Linked DNA regions of Homo sapiens: region 1 is linked to region 2. The links are contacts of gene promoters, found by promoter capture Hi-C in blood cells and fetal thymus (Javierre and others, 2016). All regions are on one chromosome and are shown on one strand. Each heading gives the region's core, a stretch centred on a gene start or on the middle of the fragment in contact. The rest is flanking DNA. Distances are from core to core; before and after follow the strand shown.

What was found. The method cuts DNA at HindIII sites, captures the fragments that hold promoters and counts their contacts. A CHiCAGO score of 5 or more calls a contact.
Region 1: a fragment that was not itself captured here is called in contact with the fragment with the promoter of RASL11B in region 2 in 1 of 17 cell types (M1 macrophages); the score reaches 6.1 in M1 macrophages.

The regions. Positions count from the first base shown.
Region 1 is chr4:54,273,593-54,280,863 of GRCh38, reverse strand. It overlaps PDGFRA (platelet derived growth factor receptor alpha), which reads right to left. Exons shown (of 23, transcript NM_006206.6): 10 at 7,134-7,271; 11 at 6,239-6,333; 12 at 5,891-6,023; 13 at 3,372-3,476; 14 at 2,858-2,968; 15 at 2,349-2,502; 16 at 382-548. Among named protein-coding and RNA genes, the nearest start is that of PDGFRA, 48 kb to the right of the region's middle. RefSeq lists an enhancer at 2,185-2,708. The HindIII fragment of the contact is 1,336 bases long and covers 5,354-6,689 here.
Region 2 is chr4:52,860,924-52,867,303 of GRCh38, reverse strand. RASL11B (RAS like family 11 member B) reads right to left here and starts at 4,987. Exons shown (of 4, transcript NM_023940.3): 1 at 4,655-4,987; 2 at 3,980-4,036; 3 at 2,750-2,826; 4 at 469-1,969. The coding sequence starts at 4,796. The coding sequence ends at 1,499. It overlaps LOC124900700 (a long non-coding RNA gene), which reads left to right and starts at 5,099. Exons shown (of 2, transcript XR_007058115.1): 1 at 5,099-5,220; 2 at 5,573-6,155. RefSeq lists silencers at 4,668-4,962, 4,934-5,423. The HindIII fragment of the contact is 3,261 bases long and covers 2,422-5,682 here.

The DNA of each region.
Region 1 (7,271 bases), core at 4,772-7,271, 1.4 Mb before region 2:
TAAGGGCATTAAAAAAAATCAATCACCATATTTTCATTAAAAAAGAAAAAGACAGCAATAAAAAAGGAAGTTCATTATATCAGAATAAATAATTATTTTTTTTAAAAAATGTTTACTGCAGGAACACACCAAGAAAATTCTTTAAAACTATTAAATTTAAAGTTTAAAAAATTTGTTACATTGTCAGCTTTTATTCTTTTCAATTTACAGGCCACAAACCTGGAAACATGTCACAGAACTGGTTGTGCAGACCTGCATTTAGAGACCACGTGGGCTGCCAGGTTCACTTACCATCCCTATACACTTCCCTCTAAATACTTTAAGTATCATATTAAACCACTGGAAAGTCCCAACACCCAGAGTGAGTATAGACACTTTTACCTAACATAGATTTCTTCTTATATGAGGCTGGACGATCATAGAGTGATCTCTGGATGTCGGAATATTTAGAAACCTCTTTCCTTTCTAGCATGGGGACATACTGTGTAGTATCAGCCTGCTTCATGTCCATGTAGTCACCATTGTTTTCAAAAGATAAAATAACATAGCTGTAAAAACAGAAAGAGAAATCTTACCCAGGGTGCCCTTCTGAAGTGGTCATTCCACTTTCAGTAGATGATGATTATGTGCCAGGTACTGAGGTAGGCATGGGAGCTAACTGGGTAAAAGCAAAACCAATCCATACCTTTCACATGAGGTGATCTAGTCAAGGAAATGAGCATTAATCAAATAGTCGCACAAATACATGCATCACAGCAATTCCACTACTGGGTATCTACCAGAGGAAAGGAAGTCATACTAAAAAGATACTTGCACACACATGTTTATAGCAGCACAATTCACATATTGAAAAAATGTGGAACCAACCCCAAATGCCCATCAATCAAGGAGTGGATAAAGAAACTGCAGTGTATCTATACATATGTATGTGTAGGTGTGCATATATATATATATATATGTAACTCAGCTATAAAAAGGAATGAATTAATGGCTTTTGCAGCAACCTGGATGGGATTAGAGACTATTATTCTAAGTGAAGTAACTCAGAAATGGAAACCAAACATCGTACGTTCTCACTCATAAGTGAGAGCTAAGCTATGAGGATGCAAAGGCATAAGAATGACACAATGGACTTGGGGACTCGGGGAAAAATTGAGAGGCAGGTGAGGGATAAAAGACTACAAACTGGGTTCAGTGTATACTGCTCCAGTGATGGGTGCACCAAAATCTCACAAATCACCACTGAAGAATTTACTCATGTAACCAAATACCACTTGTTCCCCAAAAACCTATGGAAATAAAAAAATTTTTTAAATAGGGAAAAAAAGAAATGTAAAAAACAAAATAAATACACAGATCAACTCAAACTCAGCTGTGTTGTGAAGGAAGAAAGGTTTCAATAGCTTGTAAGGAAAATGACTTGATCTGGGGGTCAAGGAAGCACTTTTCAGAAGACGTAGAATGGATCCCACTGACAAAGATGGGAAAGACTAGCGGAATATTTGTCATGGCACCTGGCACATACAAAGGACTCCACAAATGTCAGCTGCCATGATGACTACTGTTCACTTGTTTTCAGAGCCAGTTCCCTGCACATCCTTAGCAGGAGCCCGCACATCCTGAAGAGCCACATCTAAGACAGTGGGGCTGTGCTCCCATGGACCTGTAAGTCCATTACACTTAAAGTTTGAAGAATTCACTACGTTAAGTCTGTCATTATTCTTTCTCAGTTTTTCAACTCACAAGCCTTGGTTGGAACTTGAGCCGTGTGGCCATGTGGCTTGGGCATACAATTCCTTCTACCCAATCAATTTAGCACCCATTTGGTGTCCACCAAGTAATTTATTATGAAGTGAATTCATTGTACTTTCTGATCTTACAGAATTTCTTACCTACAGAGTTCTTTATAGCCACTTGTAGATTTCTGCAGTAGGGATCACTATCATTGACGTCATTTATAGGTCCAGGTTCAGCAAGGACCTCGAGCTTGGAGATCCACAGACAGTTCTTGCAAGGTTCCAGAACTCAAGCATCCCTGGCCAGAGCTGCATTTTATAGGTCTAAGTGGATCACATGTAAATAGCAGAAGAGCTCCCAGAGTCATTCTAACTCACTCTCATTCAAACCTATCAGCAAGGCCTTCCCATGTGACACCCCAGTCCAAAACACCTTTAGACATCATGCATCTCTCTGCATGACCATGGAAAGACTGGACAGGGTGGTTTGACTCTAAGTCTTGCTACCTTGGGCACTGAATCTGCAGACATGATATCTATCAGGACATGGGTCTTTCCATTTGTGATGCCTGTAAGATAATGATAGACAGCAACATCTCTCTTTGCACCCACCTCCGTGTGCTTTCATCAGCAGGGTTCAATCCAAAGATATCCAGCTCTTTCTTTGGCTTCTCTGGGTGGTGGCTCAGGAAGCTATCCCTATTCTTATGCAAATAGTTGACCAAATCTCCATAGAAGCAATACTCTGTGATGATGTAAATGGGGCCTATGGGGACAAAAGCCGTTAGGAGATGGGTATGAAAATGAAGAACAGAAAAGCCATGAATTGTCCTGCAGACCATATGGCACAGAAAAAAATAAGATACCAAAAAAGTTTTTTTTTTTTTTTTTTTTTTTTTTTTTTAATAAAGAGCCATGAATGGCTATGACTGGACTGGCAACAGATTTTGCTCAAAAACCAATGAGCTTCCATCAATTCAAGGGACCAGTCAGCTCCATTCAAGGGACTTCTATTCCCTGCCATGTGTGGGGATGGAGAGTGGAGGATTTAAGCCTGATTGAACAGTTTTCACAACCACATGTGTCCAGTGAAAATCCTCACTCCAGGTCAGTGAGCCCACCTGACTTGGTGCAGGCTCCCAGCAAGTTTACAATGTTCAAATGTGGCCCCAGGTGAGTCATTATCTTCAGTTCAGACATGAGAGCTTGTTTTTCACTGGATCTGGCCGTGGCTGTTGAAAGAATAAATCACATATCAGTCCAGCTGAGCTACCAACTTCCTGTTCTCAGAAAAAAACCAAGAATATGACTAATCCTGTGATTGGATATCATTCTATTTACCAGAAGTCTAAAAGAAGCAGATAGCTACTTGGCCTCAGTGCTAATAACTAATTCCTGGTCTTTCTAGTAAAAAGAAGTCACTGGAAATAACAAGCTCTTAATTTTCCAACATACAGGCAGCAAGAGCAATCTAAATAAACCTAATCTAAATACACATAAAACCTGGAGTCAAAATAATCAGGACCTAGTCCTAAATGTCTTATTTACTAGCTGCATGATTTTGAGAAATTCCCTTAATATCCCCATGCTCAAAAAATCCCCGTGCTCAAAAAATCCCCAGGAAGGAGCACTTACGTTTTAGCATCTTCACTGCAACTTTCATGACAGGTTGGGACCGGCTTAATCCATAGGCTGTTCCTTCAACCACCTTCCCAAACGCTCCAGACCCCAAGACCCGACCTGTGGGCAGGCAGAATCATTAACACCCAAAAACTCCAGACGCCTCCTCAGCTTTCTGCACCGTAGCCAGCTCTCTGCGGGCGGACAGCTGGGCGAGTGTCTTTCCTGTTTGGAGTAATCATAATGACTCCTCCAAGTCATCGTGTCAAAAAAGGAATTGAGCCCACAGGGAAGGAAATTAGCATAATTGCTTTTGTCGAATAACACTTGCAAGGGAAAGAAAACACAGACGGGAGAAAGGAGGGTGCAGCCCTCCCTGGTGTGAGCGCGCTGTCTACCAGCTCCGTGCTGGGCCAGCCCCTGGGATCCTCTTGCCTTCGGGGCTCTCACCCACACCTCCTGGCTCTCTCCCCTTCTGTTTTCCATATGCAAACAGGGGCATCTTTTGTCTTAGTAAATTACTAGCCACTGGAAATACTTCAGTATTCAAAATATCACTGATTCTAAGGAGTGACTAAATAAAAACTTCAGGCTGGGCTCACTGCTCCCTATTTGTTAGGAAAGCCACTCTACCAAGAGCTAAACATGCCCGAGAGCACAGCAATTAGCTTCATGTTGGGAGGAGACATACGTAAAGACACTGAAGCTGTTGTCCCACCCTGAAAGAGCTCACCCTGAGAGAAACATTTCCCGGGGTGTCAGTCTCACCACGGATAGCCAAGCCAGGAAAAGACTTGGCTCATAAAAGACACTAACAGCCAACACTGCCTCTTACTGCACGTCTGTGTTACTGAAAATCGTACCTGGAAAGGTATTGCTTCACCAGCAATGCCTCTTGGTATAATGGGAATTATGCCCTTTTCCCCATATTTTACTACTTTTTAACTCCCTAAGCTCCTCATCCCTTGTTGGGAAATAGGCAGGAAAATAAAGAAAGCTTAGATATAAATATTTGAAATTGGGGGGCAGCTCTTATAACCGCCCCATGGATTCTCCTTGTCCGCTGCCTAGACAGAGCCGATTTACCAAGACAGGGGAATTGCAATAGAAAAAGGGTTTAATTCACACAGAGCCAGCTGTACGGGAGACCTATTCTACTATTACTACTATTACTCGAATCAGTGTCTCTGAAACTGGGGGAATTTCTACTATTCTGCTATTACTCAAATCAGTGTCTCTGAAACTGGGGGAATGGGGTTTTTAAGGATGATTTGGTGGGTAGGGGGTGAAAAGGGGAGTGCTGATTGGTTGGGTCAAAGATGAAATTATAGGGAGCTGATGCTGTCCTCTTGCACTGAGTCAGTTCCTAGGTAGGGGCCCCAAGATCAGATGAGCCAGTTTATTGACCTGGGTGGTGTCAGCTGGTGCATCGAAATACAGGGTCTCCAAAATATCTCAAGCACTGACCTCAGGTTTTACAACAGTGACCCCTAAACCATACTTTCTAATCTTGTAGCTAATTCGTTAGTCCCGCAAAGGCAGTCTAGTTCCCAGGGAAAAAGAGGGTTTGTTTTGGCAAAGGGCTATTATTGTCTTTTTTTCAAAGTCAAACTATAAACTAAGTTCCTCTCAAAGTTAGTTCGGCCTATGCCCAGGAAGGAACAAGGACAACTTGGAGGCTAAAGCAAAATGGAGTTGGTTAGGTCATATCTCATTCACTGTCATAATTTCCTCAGTTACAATTTTTGCAAAGGTGATTTCACTCTGGTGCCTTGCTTGATTTCAGTTTACCTAACTCTCTAAGAAGACTTAAACTCTTCTGTATTTTGCAATGAGACCGGTGGATAATTAAAACCTGCATTTGGCATTCTTTAACATATATACTGTTAGATCATTCATCATAACACAACCTCTACCTCTACTTTCATTTGCCTTTGTCTTGCTTTCATTCATTAGGAATGTGATTTAAAAAAGAAATACTCCCTTGGACTAAAGCTTCATATACTTGGTCTCAGCCCAGGATTGAAATACTTGAAATGCTTGTGATAAGTTGGCTTGCTTATTTTTACATATTTTGCCTCAAAATGTACCTATATTTTTATATTCCATATTCCAAATATGTAAAAAGGAGTATCTAATGCATCTTCAGAATGTACTGAATCAAAATACATTTTGTGGTTGTCCTCATTCATTTCTCATCTGCTCATTTTTAGTCACAGAAATTCATTTTCAATTTGTGTCATTTCTAAAGAAAAGCAATTTTGGTGGGTATCTTTGCCAGCCCTCTTCATATTCTCTTCTCCCTTTGTAAAATTTTCCTTAACTATAATTTGTTATGGAAAGAGATTTAAAAAAATCATTGCAATGATCCAATTAACTTACTGTCAAGACAGAAATGTATTTCTGAAAGCAAATTTCCATTGCCTAGTTCTTACTAAGCACAAGCTCAGATCTCTATTCTGCCAAGGCCTATAAATTGTAAAGTTGTGTGCAAGGGAAAAGGGAGTCTTGGGAGGTTACCCCATGGAACTTACCAAGCACTAGTCCATCTCTTGGAAACTCCCATCTTGAGTCATAAGGCAGCTGCATCGGGTCCACATAAATATATTCATGTCCATCTGGGCTGATTGATTCAATGACCCTCCAGCGAATTTCATACCTCGGTTTCTATAAATGACCAGGACAGGTAACTGGTGAATTACCAAAGTCCCAGTGCACCAGAGCTTCACTGAAGCAGCACAGTGACTGGACACAGTAGAGTCCAACAACGTTCACTCCACATGTAATTGCTGAGCTCCTTCTCTGTGCCAAGCACTGAACTAGGTTGCTATGCTTGTTCTCATTGGCTTCAAAGATCTTTAGTTTTATGAGAAAATATCTACCTGTTTCCAAATGACAACCAGGACAATAAGTGAGATGATCACAATCACCAACAGCACCAGGACTGCAGCAGCCACCGTGAGTTCAGAACGCAGGGCTACGTGACAAGAGAGAGAGGCACAATGAAAAGTTTCCTGGCAGACATGCACAGGGGCAGCAAGGTAGTGTGGCTGTGTCTGAGCCAGGAATCTCTCACTGCTGGTGGGGAAGTGTGAGGGCTGCCTGGTTCATTTTAGGGATAGGCAGTACCATCTCTCAAACCATCTACACCCAGGAAACTACATCAACTCTTTCCTTATACAAGAAGGGGACAAAATTCAATCAGGAGAACTCAGTATTTTCTCCAAAGTTGCTCCAACAGTAACCTTGTGGACAGAATTTGAATAGGATAAATGCAATTGACAGCTACTATATGGGCAGACACCTCTACTTCATATGCTTTATTATAAAGCTTATTTTGTAAGTTGCATTTTGCTTATATTGCTTTTGGCTTCATCTATCTTTTAAGGAGCAATGAGACAGAAGATCCTTCCCCACACTCCATCCACATACACAGACATTCAAAGTAGAGACTGTAGCTATATTATTAGACAAGCAAAATGTTGAGGGGCCTCTGCAAAAATGCAGTTTTGGATCTGAATCTAAAACAACGTCCTAGGTAGAGGTTGCAGTGAGCCAATATTGTGCCATTGCACTCCAGCCTGGGCCACAGAGCAAAACTCTGTCTCAAAAAACAAAACAAAATAAAACAAAGTCCCACATGACTTTAAGAGCATTCATAACTGAATTTCTGCCTTGGGACCTTCATTTCTATATAACCCCTATCTGGGATTCAAAGTTCCGCCTGGGGCAGATGCGGCTCAGCTGATGAGTTGTCCTGACTGTTGAGGAACTCACTGGGAGCCACCAGCTTCAGCTCTCGGTTCTCAGCTCCAAGGAGATTCTTAGCCAGGCATCGCACGGCGATGGTCTCCTCCACTTTGGCGAAAGTCACACGGCCCTCCACGGTACTCCTGTCTCGGGAGTGGATCTCCG
Region 2 (6,380 bases), core at 3,738-6,237:
TACAGTGAGAATAAAGTGAATCTCCTGAAAGCAGCATACCCAAAGAAGAGGTCTGCCAACAAAGCATGTGTAAAGAAGCAGTCATCTCAGTGTCCAAGAAAGAATACGCTCGAGGCTGTGCTGACTATGTGGAGCCAGACATCTGTCTTAGGTATACCTGGAAGACCACAAAGTTAGTGAATAGAAGATCAGCTACTCTTGAATATAAAGCAGCAAATTGCAGTTTACAATGCTACAGGCTGTGGCCTTTGACAAGTTACTGATCTTGTTCTATAAGCCTGTTTCCTCATCTGTATTATGGGGATAATACTAGAATGCACCTCCTTGGATTGCTGTGATCCTTGAGAGATAACCCCTGAAAGGCACAATGCCAGATTCAATGTGCCCAATAATCACAGGATACTAGGTCATACTTTGTCTAAACGGCAGAAAGTTAACGTTTCAATAGAGACGAAGTTAGACATCTGCTCTTTTTCAAATGCGATTTATTGTACATAAAATAAATTAATTACAGTTTAAGCCAAAGCATGAGTGGCTTTTTAAAGTGCATCTGTGGAGGGGATGTGGCAGGTAGCCCCTGTTCACTTGCTGTAAGATAAGTGTTTTAGTATTTCAGCCACCCTTAGGCACAACTCAGCCAGGCCTAGGAAGCAACCCAACGTCATTGCCATGAACCATTTACACAAGTCACACCAAAATCAACTGACACATTTTTTTCCTGATGGAACAGTTAAAAAAACAAAAAACTATACAGTCAAAGTCTGGGGTTGAAGAGCGTGAAGTTCACAGCTCCTCCACACACGCCCAACTGAGCATGCTCATCCTGTGAGGGGGAACCAGAGCCTTCCTGTAAACCATGAGAGCTTACCAATGTCTGGTATACAAAATATTCTGGCCCATAAACTCAACCTGTTTTTGAGGGGTAGGGGATTTTCCATCTTGTACATAAAGAAAGAAATCTGGGTATCCTTCAGGTTAGAAAGGCATTCTGTAAGAATAGTGTTCCAGAGTTACAAATCATACTGGTAAGAGAAAAGCAATTCTTCCTCTTGGGGAAAAAGAGGAAAAGAAAGAAGAAAAGAGAAAAAAGAAAAAAGGGGGAAAAAAGAAAGCCTATCAATGCTTAATCTGTTCTTTCATTCCCACTGTAAATCACATCAATACATTTGGTGAAACTGCAACGGACCACCATTTACAAGGTAGTTGAATGCAGAAACCGAAACGATTATGCCCCCTCCCCACTCTAAAGGAAAAGACACAGAGTACATTTCACATATTCAGAGAGTGGCTCAGTGGGCTCTTTCAAGCCTCATCAATCCTGTCCCCCTGCTCAGAACAACACTTCCTTTTCTGTAGCAGTTCCACAGGCCCTCTTGGCCCTTCTGCTCCAGCCCTTTCTGGAACCAGGAATCATTGCCAATATTCAACGTTCCTGCACTAGGAGAACCTCAGGCCCTCTTCCTGGGAAGACCAAACCCCCTTGAGTGCTCCTCCTGCTTCAGACGGAGGTGACAGTCCTCACTTTGGCAGAGAGGGCTTGCTTAAACCTCCTCTTCAGGTCCTGCATGTTGGGTGACTTGGGCCTGGGAATGAGGGAGGTTCTTCGCTTCTCGGGTGTACTGCTAGGCTGCTGTTTGTGACTGACCTCTTTACAGAGGACGTGGAAGGCGCTGTAGACATCATTATAATTTTCACTGACAGACACTTCATAGAATGAGCAGCCTAGCATGCTGGCTAGCTGCAGTCCAAGCTGAGGGTCAACCTGTTTGATGTGCAACAGGTCAGCTTTGTTGGCCACGACCACCACAGGCAGCCGGGTGCCCAGGTGTAGCTGCTGCACGTGCTGGTGGAGCTGGCTGATGAGTTCATAGCTCTTGTAGTCAGTGATGGAGAAAACGATCACCACAGCATCTGCCCAGCGAATGCACCTATTCAGCTGTTCACTGCAGCTCAGGCTGTTCTCATGGACCTGAAAGAGAGGAGTGATGGCAAGGTGAATGCTGGCCAGTTGTACAAAGAGCCTGGGCTTGGGTAGATTTCAAATTCAAAAGAGCCCTTCATAGTAGTGCCAGGTTGAGGGCCATAAACAACTTATATCCCACACACTTCAGCTTTCTTGACAATATGTTGATCCAGCTGCACAGAGTGGGAATAAATAACAGTGCAGCTTACCACACTCAAGTGGAAAATTGACCTGCAGAGAACTCCATGCAGAGCGACTTTGTAGTTGCACAAAATGGGAAATTAACTGGCTAGACAGTAAGTCTGGGGAAGTAAAGATAGGAGCTGGAAGCATTTAAACCTGGATAACTGCCCAGTTCAGGAGGCGGGGGGAAAAACCCTAGCATGGCGCTTTTGTCTATAGAGCAACTTTCCAGTACAAAAGCGATTCCAAGTATTTGCAGACTATACCCAGAAGCTTGGTTTTTCATGCCAAAGACACACATATTAAAACTGGACTTTTAAACCACAGCAAGGAAAACACCAATTCCAACTGCATTCGGTTTGGGCTTTCCGGCTGTGTTGAATCCTTCTAAAGGAAGATTTCTGCCCCCTAGCCAAATCTCCCAAACTAAACCATGCTAAGATCGACCAACAGCCAGATACAATTGAATTGTCAGACATGTAAAAGTCTAGATGTGACTCCCCAAATTTCTCTGATCCTGCAGCATGAGGAACTTTGAGAAGAAGTGAGTGATTCCACAGCCAAGTAGGTTCCCCTTTCACCCAGAGTCTCAGAGCTTCTCACCTGAATACCTGGAGTGTCTTGAACCTGAAGAGCCAGGGTTTCACCTTCTATCTGAACTTGTCTAGTATAGAGATTACCTATGAAGGCAAATAAAAGAGATTATGTTCTTCCTTCTTGTACAACTTTTAAAACATTGTGAGTTTTAAGCTAGAAAAAAAATGCACAATGCATAAATGCACACAAAACAGCGATAGTTTATTTCTATTTGGTGGGCTTACTTCAGATTTTTTTTAAAAAACAACAGCAATTTTAACCCTATGTTAGATTTATTAAAACCAGGGCAAAGTTTGCAAGTTTTTGAAAACTTATTTATCTAGTTTTAAACAAAGTTTCCATTTTTAGAGTACTCCCTTGATGCAAATTATCTTGCTCAGCCTATGTGAGGTTTCTGTTTTCTTGAGTACTTGATTCATTCTTTGACTGTAACTTTGTATTTTGGCCGTTAGATATAATGGCTTGCTAGACAAATACTGTTAGTAAACACACAGCCAATGTTATCAGTTGGAATAAAAATGTGATATAATTATAATCAACTCTACATCAAATCAGAAGGCTGCCATGTCTTATCTTGGGATAGCTTATACAGCTCATTTCAAATAATCCCCTATAGGTACTCATATGGTCTACAGAGTTAAGCAATTTGCTAACAGAGCATAGGCAGAAAGCTCTTAAGCCTCCCCAGTGGCTATTCTTAATCATAAGGATTGAAAAATGTGTCCTCTCATTTATTCGGGAATTCTCCTCCTAAAATTCTACCATCCAGTTGTTTGTCTTTGTTAAGAAGGAGGAACTTTAGGTTTACAACTGCTCTCCTTTGGCCTTTGCTTTAAAAGGTCACCTCTGAAAGGCAGCCAGCAGAGAAGGAGAGGGGTGGGGGAAGGAGCTAGGGACTCCTTTTTTTTTTTTTTACGACTTTTGCAGGAGTGTTTTGAAGGGAGAGGTTCTTGACTACAAAGGGTGCTTCCAACTGGGGTCACTATAGTTAAAACATACCAAGGGGAATACTTTCAGGCACTTGATAAAATGATGAATGGGCTTGGAATGGAATGAGGCCAGATGGTAGTTATGGGAGGGGGGCGCCATGGAGGGCTGGGGACTGGGGAAAGTTTTAAGTGGCGGGATCCTCAGGCTCGGACTGTCACTGAAAGAACCTCCCTGGGAAGCGCTGGAAAATGGGAACCGCAGTCCTCCTGCAATGGGACAGAATTTTTCTCAAATGCATTGTCTCACCTGCATTTCTTTCATAGTCACCGATGAATCGTTTGGTGAGGAACCGGACCACCAGTGCTGCACGTCAGAAAAAAGAACGTCAAAGTGTTAACCTTGGAAGTTAGATTGTTCTCCACCCCACCCCCTGCCTGGAAAACAGTTCTCCCAAAGAAAGCCATAGATGGCCACCAAGTGAAATTCCTACCCTGTAGCTCCTTGACCCTTCTTTCCAGACAAAAAGGAGGGGGCTAGAAGGCATCGTGAATTATGGCTCTGTGCAGCTGGAAGGCTCACTGGGCCCACCCCCTCCTCTGAGCCCGGCTGAGCCACACCTAAGCCTTCCAGTAGACCCATGTCTTCCTAACCTTCAAGACCTCCCAGGGGGGCTAGCTTCACTAACTCCCCTTTCTGTGCCAGGCATTGCCAGAGGCTCAAACACCCCAAAGTTCTGATGGCGGCGGTGCCGGTGGTCCCCAGAAAGCTGCCTGGCCATTCTTGATCCTTGTTTCCCCCGTCTGTGGAAGCAGGCGGGTGGCGTAGACAACGGCTAAGCCCACTCCCAAGGGGCAGCGGCTCCCTGCGCGGGGACGGAGAGCGGTCGGGCTGCAGCTCCCACCGCTCCCCACGCCTTGTTCAGCCTCAACTCCCGTCAGGGGTCGTCCAAGACCAGACCCAGGGCTAAGCGCGACGACTCACCGGTCTTGCCCACGCCGCTGGCGCCCACCACGGCGATCTTGACCAGGCGGCGGCCGGCGGCGCCCACACAGCAGTCGGAGGCCGCGGCGTTGCCCGGCGCGGGGTACTCGGCGATGGTGCACATGTTCTGAATGAGGCGCATCGCCTCGGCTGCGGCGCACCGCGCGGGAAGGGACTGAGGGACTGGAGAATGCTAGCGCTGCGCGGGAGCGGGCGGGAGGACCCGACTGCGGGGCTCCGCGGTAAGAAATAACAACAATAAATAAGTGCAGGTACGGGCGGGGTGGGGCCGAGCGCCGAGGTTCCGCAGGGCTCAGGCTCCAGACCCAGACTGCACTCGCGCGGCGCGCCGGCTGTTTTCTCCGCGGCCGGCCCCGCCCCCTCTCCCCACAGCCAATCCCGGGGCGCCCTACACGAGGCCCCGCCCCCGGCGCCGCTCCGCGCGCGCGACGCCCCCGGAGGCGCCTGGAGTCAGTGCGGAGCCCCGTGAGGCGCGGGGAGAAGAGGCAGCGGGCGGAGGGGAGCAGCGGGTGGTCCGAGGCGGCGCAGCCCAGGGTGGGCGCCTGGTAGGTCCTGCCGCGCGAGCATGGGGCAGCTGCTGTGGCTGCGGGGCCAGGAAGAGAGCGCAGCCTCCACAGAGCCATTCCGGACCGCTGCCTCCGCCGGCTCCACAGCCCACGCGCGCACTCGCTGCAGCCCCAACCTAGGGCGTCTGCTCTGGGCGGGCCGGGAGCGGTGTTTGCTCCCCGGCTTAGTGCCGCCCGCCCTGATTTGGAGCGATTGCACTGGCTTGGGTACATCCCAGCTCATAGATTCAGCTACAGTTGGCAATCATCCGCAAAGACTCCAGCCTAAGACCTTTAGACCCCCGTAAAATGTGACATTTGAAGCAAAAATATCATCCACGTTTTATCCTAGACCCACGTTCTCTGGCTCTTGTCGACGGCGCAAGCTAACGCAAACACACATGGTCGGACGCATGCACAGCACGCCTAGAAGCGGATCAAGAAGTAATTATAGAACAAGCTTTCCAGCGCCTCACTCAGTCACACCTCCTTCAAGAGCTGTGAAATGGAAAGAAAACAGTTACTCCAGCTGCGACGTCTGAAGGGGCCCCGCACTTCGTCCCTGGTCATAAGACACCGCAAGAGTTTAGTTAAGTGGCTTGATACCAAGGAAGAGGTGGGCCCTGCACTCCTAAAATCCCAAGCTCCGGCCCCTTACAGTCTCATCTGAGAAACACATCTTCAACGGCAGGCCAAATTCCTCCTGCGAGCAACATTCTGTAGCTGCAGCTGATGGCAAGATGTCACCAGCGGCTGATGGCAAAATGTCACCAGAGTCGCGGGTTAACCACCCCATCCGCTATCCAAGGCCCTCTCCCCGCTACCCTTTCAACCTTGTCCCAGAGGCTTTTATGTTGGGGTATGGCAACAAACTCTGTGGCTTTGTGTACCCACCCACATTAAAGGCTAAAATGTGAAATAAACCAGTGCCCTTATCCGCACATGTCAGTCATCTAATTTGACCCCCTCTTCCAGCCAGAACTTAATTGACCAGGTATTTGACAGAATTTTATGATCCTCAGCCAGTTCAGACTCTGAGATGAACCTCTTGTCTACAGAGGTTTAGGTGTTTGCAGGAATGCAAGGAGAAATAGAAAGGTAATCTCAAGGTAGCAAGTTTTCTAGGATGGGCCACGTAATTAGAAAGACACACAACCTTA